Linked DNA regions of Homo sapiens: region 1 is linked to region 2. The links are contacts of gene promoters, found by promoter capture Hi-C in human tissues and cell types (Jung and others, 2019). All regions are on one chromosome and are shown on one strand. The core of a region is centred on a gene start or on the middle of the fragment in contact, and the rest is flanking DNA. Distances in the headings are between cores, read along the strand shown.

Region 1 (7,699 bases), core at 72-2,571, 47 kb after region 2:
CTTGGCCTCATCCAGATGTTAAGAAGACATTTGTCCTAGAATCAGAATCAGAGTCAGAAGAGGCCTCAGAAACTATCCAGTCCACCCCTCTCATTTTGCAGAAGAGGCAGTAGGGACTCAGAGAGGTTAAGTGAATAGGATGAAAGTCACACAGTGCTGTGTGGCAGAATCATGTTTGTTCTCTCTGTGTCTTGATGTCTTTTCACCCCTGGGAGGGTCAGGGGCCGTAGGTGGTTGGGTCCTGTGTGCAGGGGCTTTATATGTGAATTGTGTGAGACAGTGTGTGTCACTGGATTGCTAAGTGCCTATGTGTGTCAGTGTGTCACTGAGCATGAGTGTGTCTCTAGTGAACCCTGTGAGACAATTAGTGGTGTGAGTGTGTCCCCATCTGTCTGTGAGATGCAATGGAATGCAGGGTAGGAGCCTCTCTGGGGAAGTTGAGAAGCCTGACTGCCACTCCTGGCCCTGCCTCAGATTCTCTGTGTGACCTTGAGTGGTTACTTCCCTGTCCTGGGCCTCGGTTTCCTGAAATGTTACTTGAGGGTTGGGTGTGATGGGTACTGGCTGACTGTGTGTGAGGTTCTGACTCAGGGAGCAGCTCTGTGTCTGCCTCATCCCCAACATAGCTGTTTCTTGAGATTTGGGCCTTCCACATTGGGTGACTCATGTCAGGGCCTGGGTGGGCTTGGACTCCTCTCTCCCCTTGGAGCCCCTGTCCGTGGTACCTTTGCTAACAGCCCTCCTTTTTCTTCTCTCTCTGCCTCCGTCTTCTCCGAACCTCGCTGGCTGCAGAGGAGCACCCCATGGAAGGTGAGTGAAGCCTCTCTGTCACTGGGGTAGTGGATCTGTTGCCATGGGGATCCTACATGAGGGACTGTCGTTGGCTACCCAAGGACTCCCTTTCCTGCCATGTTTAGGGCCTCTCCGGAGAAGGATGTCTGGGGTCCTCCCTTGGCTGCCTTGCCCCACTCTCTTGCGTCCCCTCTTCATGAGTTTCGGGGGAGCTGCTGACTGGCCTTTCTTCTTCCTTTCCCTCTCCACGCTGGAGAGGGAAAGGGAAACTTAGGGAAGAGATGAGCGGTGGGGGTGGAGGGATGGGGCTGACAGGATTCCGAAGTGCCCAGAAGTGAGTGGGTAGACAACGTTTAGCCCAGCCTAAGTTAGGAAGCTTAGAAAGGCAATTTTCCAGATGCTGGGGCAGGCTGGGGTGGGCTGTTGCCCCAGAAACCTGTGCTTGGGGAAAATCTGCCCTGGAATCTGGTGCCACTGTGCAGGGCTCAGGGGACTGGAGGGTGGTGGAGTGCACTGGCAGAGTAGGGGGTTGGAGGTGTATAGTGGGAGCAGCTTCTCTGCCCCACTGTGACCAGCACTTGCCACTTGCGGCAGGCCCCTAGCTGCTGCCCCACAGGTTGCTAGGTAGGGGTGGGCTGCTTCTTCCTTCATCCAGGTCGGAGGGCAAGGGTGGGGTGTGTGCCTCTCTCTCAGGTCTCTCTGTATGTTCTTTCTTTATCTCCTGTTTTGTTGGCCTCTTCTCCCTCTCCAGTTTCTGTCTTTACCTCCTTTTCTCCAAGACTCTGTCCCTGGACCATGTGTCTCTCCTTCCCCAGGCTCTCTCTGGGTTTCTGTCATTCTCTGAATCTTTCTCTTGCAATTTGGCTTTCCCTGTTTCTTCTCCTCCTCTGGGATGGACTGAGAGCAGGAAGAAGGTAGTCCTGGCTTGAAGGCTGTGTTGAAGATGAGCTCACATAGCTACCATGAAGAAGGCAGCAGAGCAGGCATGAGGTGGCATCCCAGTCCCTTCTCCTGGGAAGGTGGAGTGGGAGGGCAAGGGCGTCCCTGGGGAGGAGGAGAGGAAAGTGCCAGGGATGCAGTAGTCCTGGGAAAGAAAGGCAGCAAGAGGCTCTTGGCCTGAGTGTGGGGCTGGAACCCATTTTTCCTCGTGATGTCCATGGTCTGACTTGTCTCTCTTGGATGTCTCTTTTCCCTGGGGGTCCTCAGGTCCCCAGGGCCCAGCAGGCAGGTGTGTGTGTGTGTGTGTGTGTGTGTGTGTGTGTGTATGTATGTATGTGTGGGTATGTATGTCTGCATACACATACATTTATACAACTCTGCTGGTCTGTGTGTCTGTGTGCACGCCTGAGGATATATGCTGTGTACACGTAACATGGTTTTGTGTCTGAGTGCATGGGTGTGCTGTGCGCCTCCATCGATGCATATGTGGTGTGGCCCACATTTCTGTATGCCTATGTAGAGCATCAGCATCTTTGTGTGTCTGCATCTGTGTTTGCATCTCCGTGTGTCAGTGTTTACCTCTGCGTGTGTGTCACAGAGAGAGTCTGCGTGTCTGGGTGGACGCAGCCTTCTGAGGGCTGGAGATAAGATTTAGTGTTGATGTGACTTTTACTTGCTCTTGATGTCATGTCTCCTCCGGAACAAAGGGTGAGATGGAGGGAGGAAGAGAGAAAGGGAAAAAAGGGTGGAGGAGAGAAAAAAGGAGGGAGCAGAGAGATGGAGGAAGGAGAGGGGGTAAGTGAAGGGTGGGAAGAGAAAGACTCAAGCCTCAAGCTGTAGGGGGTGGGGCAGGAACGGGGAACAGCTTGGCCAAAAGAAGAAAGGCAGGGGGGCACTTGGGAAGAAGGAGTCTGGTGGGAGTAGGGAAGAGGAAAGGGGCTGATAGACAGGAACAAGAAGGGAAGCTGGGCTTTGGGGACCCATGGGGAAGGAGGCCTGTGGACGCCACCTCGCCATTTCTTTGGGTGGCATGGTGGTCTGCTGGTTTAGATGTGGCACTGTGGATGCCTGCATGTCAGTGGCTGTGCAGGGCTGTGTATTGGAGGCTGTGTGTGTGTGTGTGCGCGTGTGTGTATACACACCTAGGAGTCTGACACATCTCTGTGTCACTCTGAGACATGTCTGTGTGCCTGCTTGTGTGTCTCTTAATTTGGTCACCTATCACCATCTTTATTTCGATGGTGGTTCTCTCTGGGGTTTCAGTAGGAGAGTTAGGGGATGAGACTGAAGATGGGGAGGTGGGTTTAGCAGGTGGTGGTTCCACGTGGCTGGGCTGGCGGCCTCCTCTGTGGCACTGTGCTCTGGACCCTGCAGCCCTCCTTATATCTCTAAGGAGTCCTCTGTACCTTCGCCTTCTTCCCACTTGACACTGTGCCTGAGGCCTAGCTTTCTCCAGGAACCCCAAGATCCTGCTCTGCACCCCTGCCGAACACCTCCTTTTTCCTCCCAGCCTCTAGTGGCAGGGCAAAGAGACCCAGAAGTAGCCAGATAAAGTGCCCTAGGAAGGGACCCATGGCAATGCCATCCATCATTGCCAGTCTCTTTTCCAGCAGTGGGAGGAGGGGCTGATGCCACAGGTGGATGTGGGGAAGTGAATACCCCAGTGGGGCTGGGGGCCAGGAGGAGGGAGCAGAGATTTCAGATTAGTGGGGAGACAGACTTTAGGGAGAAAACCCTGGGGCCAGCTGGGACTGAGCCAGGGGTAGACAGGAAGGGAACCAGCCTCCCCTTCACCAAGATGGCTGGTGCTGTCACGCCTGAGGGAGCTGAGCAGCTGGTTGCCGTGGTGACAGAGGGAGACTGCCGAATGCTAACGAGGCTGGCGAGGAGCTGGGCAGTGGAAGGGTCTGGGAGAGGGAGATGTGGCTTCCTCCAGCAGCAGTCAGGCCTGTGGGAGACAGAGGGTGGGTTCACAGGGCACCTGGCTCCTGGGCTGGGGGTGGGCAGAGACCTGGATTCTCAAGGGTGGGATCCTGAGAGCAAGGCTGCTTCTGACCGGGAGAGTCGGATGTGGGTTGAGGGCTCTGGGTCTGGGTCCTGGGTTTAGGGGGTTTGGAAGGAGATGCTGGTAGTTTTTGGGGAAAGGGTTGGTGGCAGAGTAGGAGGGTATTCAGAGTAAGGAATGAGGAGACTCGGTTCAAATGCTTGGGTCCTTACCTGTGTGATGGATAAAAACCTACATCCTCCCAAGAGCTGTTCAGTCCTGAGGCTGCCCTCAGCGGCTGTGGCCTCCTCCTCCAAGTGGCCTCAGACTCAGAGGTGGGGAGAAACCAGTGCCACCCTAGAGACATGGGGCAAAGAGGGCAATGTGAACCATCTGCCACGGGGTCCAGGCCTTTGGCCCCTGGCCATGTCCTTCCTGTCCTCCTCACTGCCTTTCCTCTTAGAATCCAGGCATCCTGGCCCCCAGCTTCGTCTCAGAAATACTTGTAACTCTTTAACCTTGCTACTTCCATCCTGGCCCCAGCTTTCTATCCCTAGGGTTCACATCTCATTGCCACAGCAGTGGGGCTGGTTTCCAAGGGTGACAGTGGCACTGCAGGGCTGTTCCCCTTCCTACCCTCTTGGCCAGACACCACAGGGGAGTGAGTGGGGCTGGGGGGGCTCTGAGGTTTGGTGGAGCTGGCTGGCCATCTCAGGAAGCCCTGGGGTCTCAGCCCAGCTGTGGGGCCTGGTGCTGCCAGCCTCTCTAGGAGAGAGCTTTCCTTGGCTGGTGCCTGTTGGGGACAAGGGTACTGATCCAGTGGGCCAGATTCCTTCCCACTAAGGCTGGGGAGGGGTACTTTGGGTTAGGGCTGACAAGGCTGTCTCAAGGGGCCAGTGTAATCCTGGATGGAAATCCTAGCTGGTCTTCCTATCAGTCCATTTTCTATTTTCAAAATCCAGCTTTTGGGTCATTTGAGAGAGGTCCTGGTCAGAGAAAGGGGGTCTGTAATTTATGAATGATGTACTTGGACCTTTCAGAGAGCTGGGCTTCCTCCCATAGGGCTCGGCTGTCCTCTTTGGACCTTGCTGTCTGAGAGCTCTGACCCCAGTCTCTCAGTGTCTCTGTAGATTCTACCTTCTCCTACCTGCTTCCTCTCTAATTTTGTCCTCTTGAACCCCAGTTTCCTCTTAGAACCCAGGTGTGCAGGGTCCCTACTACCCCTACAGAGGTTATTGGGAAGGGTAGCTGGGAGGATTAGAACCCAACAGGTGTCCTTCCAAACCCCGCTTTAGTGGGGGATGCTTTTAGGCCCAGGTTCTTTATATCCCCCCATCTTTCCCCCTTTTCTACCAGCATCCTAGGGGTAACTGGGATTAGGGGTGTTGGGGGGTTGGAGGCCCCCTTGCCCGCTTAATCCCATGCTAACAGGACACTCTCTCTCTCTCCAGGTGGCTTTGATTTTTGTGTCGTGTTTTATTTTCTCCTCCATCTGAATCGTTTTTCTCGTTGACTGTTTTTTTTTCTCTCCGCCTCCCGGAAGAAAAAAAAAAAGAAAAAAAGAAAAAGGAAAAAGCAACCCTCCTAGCCTAATGCTTCTCCTCCTTTTCCTTTTTTTTTTTCCGGCAAGAAGAAAAAAAGAAACCAAAATCTCCTCTCCCCGCTGCAGTGCCCCCCGCCCCCTCCTTCCTCCAGTTCTGCCTGTACCCCTCTCACCCTCTCTGACGCCCCTAATCTCTCTTTCTCTCTTCCCCTGTTGTGCCCTCCACCCGCTGTTTCGGCATCGGGCCCCTCTCCTCAGCTCCTGGGCTGGGGCTCCCCCCGATGTCTGTCACAAGTTAAAAAAGGTTTTTAAATTGTGGCAGCAAAAGCTTTTTTCTCCCTTCTCTCTGGCTGATTTTGATGACTCGTGTTTTCTTTGTTTCTTTCCCCTTTTCTTTCTTTTTTCTTCTTCTTTTTTTCTTTCTTTCTTTCTCTCCTTCCCCTTTCCAAGGTCCGGCTCACCTGACGTTAAACAGCGAAGGTATGGTTTGAAGTTTTGGTTTGGTTTGGATTGGATTGCCCCCAACCTGCGCCTGGATTTTCTGTTCTTCTCCCTGTCCTTCCCCTGTCCCCTTCCCCTCCTCCACCTGTCCTGACACCTTCCTTCCTTTCCTACCCGCTTCCTTTGCCATTTCTTAATTTTATTTGGGGGGTGCTGGGGTGGGGGTGGGGGCTTGCCCTTGTCTGTGTGCTCCCCTCTCCCTCACCCACCCTGAAGCACTCCATCCACCCACATCTCACCTTGGTTTCTGACATCAAGAGATGTTTGAACTCCTGCCGTTGTCTCCAGTCACCCTTTTTTTGCGTTTTCCTGGTAGTGTATCTTGCTTTTTTTTCTTTCTCATGGTGGTGTTTGATTTCCTTCCACTCATTCTGATCATTCTTTCTTTTCTATGGACCTAAGTAACAAGAGAAAAGCATGGGCTGGAGAAAGAGGGTCTTAGGCAGTCTCATCACCCTCACCTTGCTACTGTGGGAGGCCCCCATCCATGACGAGAAGGGAAATGGGAGTAGAGGTGTAGGGTCTCTCCGTTTCCACAGTGTGCGCTCCCAACCCCCTGCCCACCCGCACGCCTTCACCCTTGTATCTTTTGAATGTCTCTTAACCCTGTTTGACAGATGACGACGTTGAGGACCAGAGAGATGAAATGACTTGTTAGTGATTCCACAACCCTTATTGGTGGTATGGTTGGGACTAGCCATTTAATTTTAGCACTCCTTTGACTAAGTGCCTACCATCTTTGAGAGCCCTGGTGTTAAGCAAACCTGGAGACAGAACTCAGGAGTCCTGTCTGAGCTCCTCCAGCTCTGGCCTCCTCTAGCCCTCTGCTGTCACTGATTCTCTCTGAGCTCAGGGTTTTGGCCTTTCAGACCCTTTGGCACTGTTGGACCTGCCCAATTCAGCCCTCTGTGGGGGGGTCATCTTACAGAGGAACAGAGTGGGGTCCTTAGCCGGTAGGCAGGACCAAGATTGGGCTGCAGGGAGAAACTCATATAGATATGAAATTTGGGATGGATTTAGGTCTGGGGAGGTAGAGGCCTTGGAGTCTTGCAGGGATGTGGAATTATGGCAAGAAGTGTGGGGAAAGAGGAAGTCCCAAATGGAGAGCTAGGAGTAGGAACCCTGGTTGGTTCACTCACATCCTTCTTGCCTCTCAGTGCCTGGTTCTATGGGTGCTGGCTGTGGCTCCCCTTTGTCATAAGTGAAGGCCCTCCCAAAGGATCTCAGAAAGCCCCCCTGGAAAGTTCCACAGCTCAAGTATTATTCTAGTTCAAGTTTGGGGATTTGCAACTGGGGTTGAAGTAAGAGCCCATTTAGAGACTTTTCCCCTTCATCACTGAGTTTTCTCATCCTGAAGCCATCCTGTGGATCTGGCAGTAGGGCTGGGTACCTGGAAGCCAGGTGCTGAGTATATAGGTTCACTGGAGCGGGGAGAGGTGGGGTGAAGATTCGAGCTGGCCTGGAACCCAGACATGGTAACATGTGCCCACCGGGGCATTTGGACTGAGGCCTAAGTGCTGCTGATGAGTGGGGTGGTAGGGAGTGAGAAATAACTCCTGAGAAAGGGCTTGCCCACATCCAGGCTGAGCTCCAGGGAGGATCTCCTTTGACTTGCACAGCCCTTTTGTAGGCACAATGGTGGGATGAAGAACAGACAGGAATTACAGGAAGCCCCTGGAAATCTCTGGGAAGCTCCAGGGTCTAACTGGCAAAGAAGTGGGCAAGGGTGAGCTTCCGAGCACTCACTGTGGTGAATGAAGCAGGTGTGGATGGCCTCAAGGTGTAGTGAGAGCCTCAAGGACAGGAAAGAACAGAAGAGGAGCTTGGGATATAAATCTGGAGAAGTTTCTGGAGGAGGGGGTGTCTGCGTCAGGCTTTTGAACGAGTTGGGAAGTGTGAACTTAACCCAGCATAAAGGGTGTGAGCAAAGGTGCAGAGTG
Region 2 (5,299 bases), core at 1,221-3,720:
TTGGGCCAGCCCCAGCACCTCATGCAGAGGGTGGGGTACTGGAGTTAGATCTCTAAGCCCCTCCTGGAACCCTCATTTTCCCCACTCTCAATGTCCCAGTGTCCAGCGTGACTAAGGACACGGGCCCCCTTCCGTCCTCGGGCTCCCGGTCCCCTCCTATTTATGGGGTCTGACCAACTGCACCCACTCCCTAATAAATTCATTCTCCTTGGGAGCCTCCTTACTCCTCTTTGTTGGGAAATATTTTTAGCTCTTGGCGGGCTCAACAGCAGCCGCGCAGTCACCCCCTTATCCTCCACCCTCGGCAGGTGCGTCCCACGGCGGGACGGTGATGGGAGGTGGAGGGGGCGACCCGTGGGGGCGGGGCCTAGGCCTCTCCAGCCCCTTTCCTGGCGTCACCCTCCACGCCTCTCTTCCCAGTGCCGTGTCCATACTAGGTCAGCGGCCAGCCTCGCTGGCCGGGGGCGGGGCGTCTGCCTGGGTGGGGCCCACCGGGGCTGGGAGCCGGGACTTGGGCTGAGGCTTCCCGGACCACGGAGGATCCGCGCTGTCGAGGGCAGGACCCAGGAGGGGGAGGAAGCAGAGGATGCTCGGCGCCTTCTTGGCTCCGCCCTTAGCCCCGCCCTACTGCGGCGTTTAAGGGTCTCTTAGCAGGTGGCTACACTGGATCCAAAGTCGGGGGAGTGTTACGGCAGGGAACACTCGCAGACCGCCTAGTCTAGGCCCTCATTATGGGGAAACTGAGGAACAGAAAGGTCCTGTTTCTAAGTCTTACATTACCAAGACTGAGGTGCGGGGGCGGTCCTGGATCCCCCGCCCCAAGGCTGGGAGGGGCACGCCTCGGAAGGGAGGTTTGGGGTCGGTGGTTTCACAGTGAGTGTGTCTGAAGCCAAATGGTCGGAAACCGTTACCCGCTCTCCTAGGCCCGGCTAGTGGGGACCCCAACCGCCTGCGGCTGCCCCTCCCAAGTTCCTCCCTGTTGGCCAGGCATCCAGGTCTCCAGTCTCCGAGCTGCGGAGAACCCACCGCCACATGCGGCTGCCCCTTTCCATTCGACCCTGTGGGGAGCCAGGCTTCCGGGGCCCCGTTCCTCCTGTGTGAACTGGGCCCCCCGCCCCCATTCCCAGACATCAAGGCCGCGTCTCCAGATAGCCACGATTTCATTCCTCGCTCCCCACAGGTCCCTCTCCCCAAAATATTCCCATCTTGTCCTAGCCCATCCCCCAGACTATCTCAAGGACCAGCTGTCCCCACGCCCCCGACCTCCACTAGGCCTGTGCCACCCGCTGCCTGCAGGAAGACGCCCGGTCCCGGGCCGGGTTAGCCCCATGGGAACGGTTTGTCTCGAAAACAGGAACCCGAGCTGGGGGCTGGGCGGGGCGCCCCTTCCCCACCGCAGTCCGCTTCCTGCCCCTCCCGGCTTCCTCCGCCCGACACCCAGGCAGGGCGGGGGGCACTGGGGCGTCCGCGGTTGGGGGAGGGGCTCTTCGTTTCGGTCCCCCCTCCGCGTCCCGGGCGGCGGGGCCTCCGGTCGCCCGCCCTCGGGGCAGCTAGTGGCGCAGCCCCCCGCCCGCGGCCCTGGCCTCCCGGGCGGCGCGGCAGGGGAGGGGTTAAGCTGCCGCAGGGACCGCCGCGTGCGGGGCGAGAGGGAGCCCCCGGTGGGGGTGGCGCAGCCGGCGGTGCGGAGCTCCGCGCAGGGGCGGAGGGGGGAGGGGGCAGCCTGGCGCGGGGGCGGGGGCGGGGCGGCGGGGAGCGGGGCCGCGGCGTGGAGAGCGGGCGGGAGCCGCAGCCGCAGCGAGGCCGGCGGGCGGGAGCGCACGGAGGTGGGGTCGGCCAGGCCGGTGCGGGCTCCTTGCGGCAGGTCCCAAGAGTGAGTGGGCGAGCGCGGGCGGGGCGCCAGGCGAAGGAGGGCGCGGCCCCCAGCGACTCCCCCCCCGCCCAGGGCGGCGCGGGCGGGCTGGGGGCGGCGAGCGGGTGGGGAGTCTGCGGCCCGGGTCTGGGAGAGGGGGCAGCGGCCACGAGAGCTAAGGCGCGCTGGATCCCCGGAGGGCGGAGGACCTCCACGGTGCACCCAGCTTTTCCCAGCCACCTTCCAGCGGGGCCCTCCCCCGCGTACCCCCATTTGGCAGATGAGAAAATTGAGGCTCCCAGAGGCCAAGTGATTCTCAAGGTCACACGAGGAAGCGGTAGAGCCAGGCGGGGACGGCTCTGGGTGGCTCTTAGGAAAAGTCCGCCTGAGAACTCCGTACAGGAGCTCCCCTGTCCTCCAGCCTGGGGGAGTGAGTATGTGTAGGGCCGGGGTACCTTTCCGTGGGGCAAGGCTCTGCCAAAATCTGGGAGTGAGGGGAGTCAGGGAGCTGGGGCCGCAGGGCGGGCCCTGCACCGCAAATGGGAGGGGGGCGACGGAATGGGCGTGCGCACCCATGGGGGTGTGTGCATGTGTGTGGGAGTGTACATGCGTGGAGAGGCACTGCCTTGCGTGTGTGCACACGTGTGAGGATGTCAGCGCCTGTGTGGCCGCGGGACTCAAGGCTGGCCTGGCTCAAGTGAACAGCACGTCCAGGAGGCGACCTCGTCCGCGGGTTTGCATTCTGGGGTGGACGAGCTGGGTATGTGTGCCTGAGGGTTTCTTCGTGCAGGTGTGCACAGGGTGTGGGTGCCATTGTGTGTGAGAGACGGAGGATGGGAGGCCGGTGCCTGTGGCCCGGTGCGTGTAAGTGCGGACGCCTGCACCTCCACTTAGGTCCCCGGCCTCCGACGAATAACTTGGGTGTGGAGTGTTTGCCCCTGCCAGGGTGCGTATGACCCCGCCAGTGACCGGAGTTGCTAATGGTGTCATGCACCCACCGGCCACCCTTGGCGCGAGCGCCCCCCTCTGGACACCCTGCTCCGTGCGCGCTCACAGTTCGCCTGTGCGGGGCCGGGGCCAGGGTCAGGAGCCGGGGATAGGGAGGAAGAGGGCCTGTGGACAAGCTGAGCCGGGACCCCTGGGACCTTTGCGGAGGTGGCCTGGGAGCGCTCAGTTCCCAGGCTCAGGCTTCCCGCTGACGCCTCCTGGCCGCAGCGGGCTCCCCCCGCCCCAGGAATGTTCCTCTCCCATCCAGTCCGCCTCCCCTAGGGCAGGCCCCCTGGGGGCTGCCGCAGCCCCGCCTCGCCTTCCTGGGCTCCCGGGAGGGGGCGAGGCGGGCAGGACGCCTGGGTTCTCTCCCCCCACCTCCCATACCAGGGAGAAATTCCTCCGAGGTCCCCTCAGGCTCTGGGTTCCCAAAATAACCCTGCGGGGGAAGGGAGGCTGTGGAGGGAGGGAAGCGGGAGGGGCGCAGAGCCGAGCTGCGGGGTGCTGCAGGTGCCTCTGGGGAGAGGGCGCGAGGAGAAGGCGCCCTGCGGGGGGCTGGGCGCCAGCCAGTCCTGGGATCTTGGTTCGTCCCCATCCTCGTGAAGCCCCTCGGCCTTCCCGCGACTCCGAGGGTGGGCCGGAAGCCTCTCTGCGGGTCCGTTTCCCAACTGGCGGGTTGCACCATCCCGGGCCAGACCGTTTAACCCCGGGAGTGGCCGCGGGGGACAACTCCGCCCCTGTCCAGCAGGGGGCGTGCCCGCCCCGCCCCGTTTCTGCCCGCGGGGCCGCTCCCCCGCCCGCGACTCCGCAGACTCCCGCTCTGCCTCTCCCGGGACAGGGGTTCGGTCCGAGCCCGGTGGGAGGCTCCCGGAGCGCAGCCTGGGCCCAGCCCACCCCGCGCCGGCGGCCATGGCAGGCACCCTGGACCTGGACAAGGGCTGCACGGTGGAGGAGCTGCTCCGCGGGTGCATCGAAGCCTTCGGTGAGTGGCTCGGGAGGGCACACGGAGCCTGAGCCTAGCCCCGAGTCTGAGCCCGGGTCCCTGCCTCCCAGGCACAGTCCAGGGCACAGCCCTGACCCGGACCCACCCTGCTCCGCAGCGTGCAGTCTCTTTAACGAAAGCCTCCTCCGCAACGCAGGGCAGAGAGATGCACGCCCTTCAGACAGATGAGGTTTCCCTTCTCTAGCCTTCCCCAGCGGCGGCGAAGGGAGGGCCGGGTCCCGGACTCTGACACTTGAGGGGCATTATCTGTCTCCCGGGGAATCCGGAGGAACTCGCTATCTCCGGCCTGGGAGCTGTTTCCGGCTAATGGGGGGCGGCTTATCTGGTGAAGGGGTGCCCCTTCCCCCCAAGCGCTCAGGAAATGACCTCTGGATTCTTGACCCCGGGGAACCCAGGCTCCTTCCGCCCCAGCTGGTTCCCCTCCGGACGATGGGCGGCTCGGGCGCTCCCCTCCTCCAGTCCTCAGGGCGTGCCTATCTCTCGCCCACCACACCTTTCCTCTCTAATTTGCCTCCTGCTCTCGGAGTCCTGGGCAAGCAGGAGGTGGGCGGGGTCGAGCGTGCACCCGAAGGACCGATACCTGGCGGGTTGCGGGGTGAGGATGAGGCATGGTAGCTGCGGACCCAGCTCAGCCACCTGTCTTTGACCCTTCGGAGTCAGATGACTCCGGGAAGGTGCGGGACCCGCAGCTGGTGCGCATGTTCCTCATGATGCACCCCTGGTACATCCCCTCCTCTCAGCTGGCGGCCAAGCTGCTCCACATATATCCTTCGCCGGCCTTGCCAAGGCCCCCGCCGTCGGAGCCCATGCGCAGCCCCTCTGCCCAGCCCAGGTGCAGAATGAGCCTCGCTCCTAAGTATAGGCCACTCCTTATCCCAGAGCTCAGGCGTCGTCCCAGCCTCCAACTAGGGCCTAGGCTCTGCCCCCTCCTTGCTCCTAGCGACTCGGTCCTGTCCCCAGGCTCTGTCCCCAGCCGAGGCCTTGCCCTCCTTCTCCCTAGAGTCTGGGGCCTGCCCCTGCTTCAGGCTTGGGTGCGCCCCGTGCATCTCTCTCTCCCAGAGCCCAGGCTTTGCTTTCAGCCTCCCTCAGCACCTAGTCCTCCACCCCCACCTCCAACCCCTCCCAGAGCTCAAGCCTCACCCCCAGCATCTCCGCAGAGCGCAAGCCCCATCCCTAGAACGTGTCTCCTAGAACCAGGCCCCGCCCCCAGCCTCCCTCCACGCAGGCCTCCCTTTCTAGAGTTAAGCGGCCTCCTTAACCCTCTCCTTCACCTACCAACAATCCCGGAAGGACAACTCCAATTCCCTGCAGGTGAAAACGTGCCACCTGGTCAGGTGAGTCTTTCCCCTGGGGCTCTAGCCCCTCCCCTTTCTCCCTTCTCTCTGGCTTCAGGCTGGCCTGGAGGAGGGGGCAGGGCGCTGTTTCTGGGAGTGGGTTTGAACCCTGGCTTGTCCGGGTGG

What was found. Contacts are between HindIII fragments. The study calls those that stand out against the background at their distance.
Region 1: a contact is called between a fragment that was not itself captured here and the fragment with the promoter of RASGRP2 in region 2, in 1 of the 25 tissues and cell types used here (lymphoblastoid cells).

What each region holds. Positions count from the first base shown.
Region 1 is chr11:64,690,886-64,698,584 of GRCh38, reverse strand. NRXN2 (neurexin 2) reads left to right here. Exons shown (of 23, transcript NM_015080.4): 3 at 793-810; 4 at 5,709-5,738. Among named protein-coding and RNA genes, the nearest start is that of NRXN2, 28 kb to the left of the region's middle. The HindIII fragment of the contact is 4,113 bases long and covers 1-3,377 here.
Region 2 is chr11:64,741,313-64,746,611 of GRCh38, reverse strand. RASGRP2 (RAS guanyl releasing protein 2) reads left to right here and starts at 2,470. Exons shown (of 17, transcript NM_001098671.2): 1 at 2,470-2,609; 2 at 3,675-3,818; 3 at 4,500-4,602; 4 at 5,111-5,173. The coding sequence starts at 3,746. PYGM (glycogen phosphorylase, muscle associated) reads left to right here. Exons shown (of 20, transcript NM_005609.4): 20 at 1-214. RefSeq lists silencers at 1,354-1,553, 1,804-1,913, 2,904-2,953, 3,114-3,163, 3,474-3,803 and 1 more. The HindIII fragment of the contact is 18,641 bases long and covers 1-5,299 here.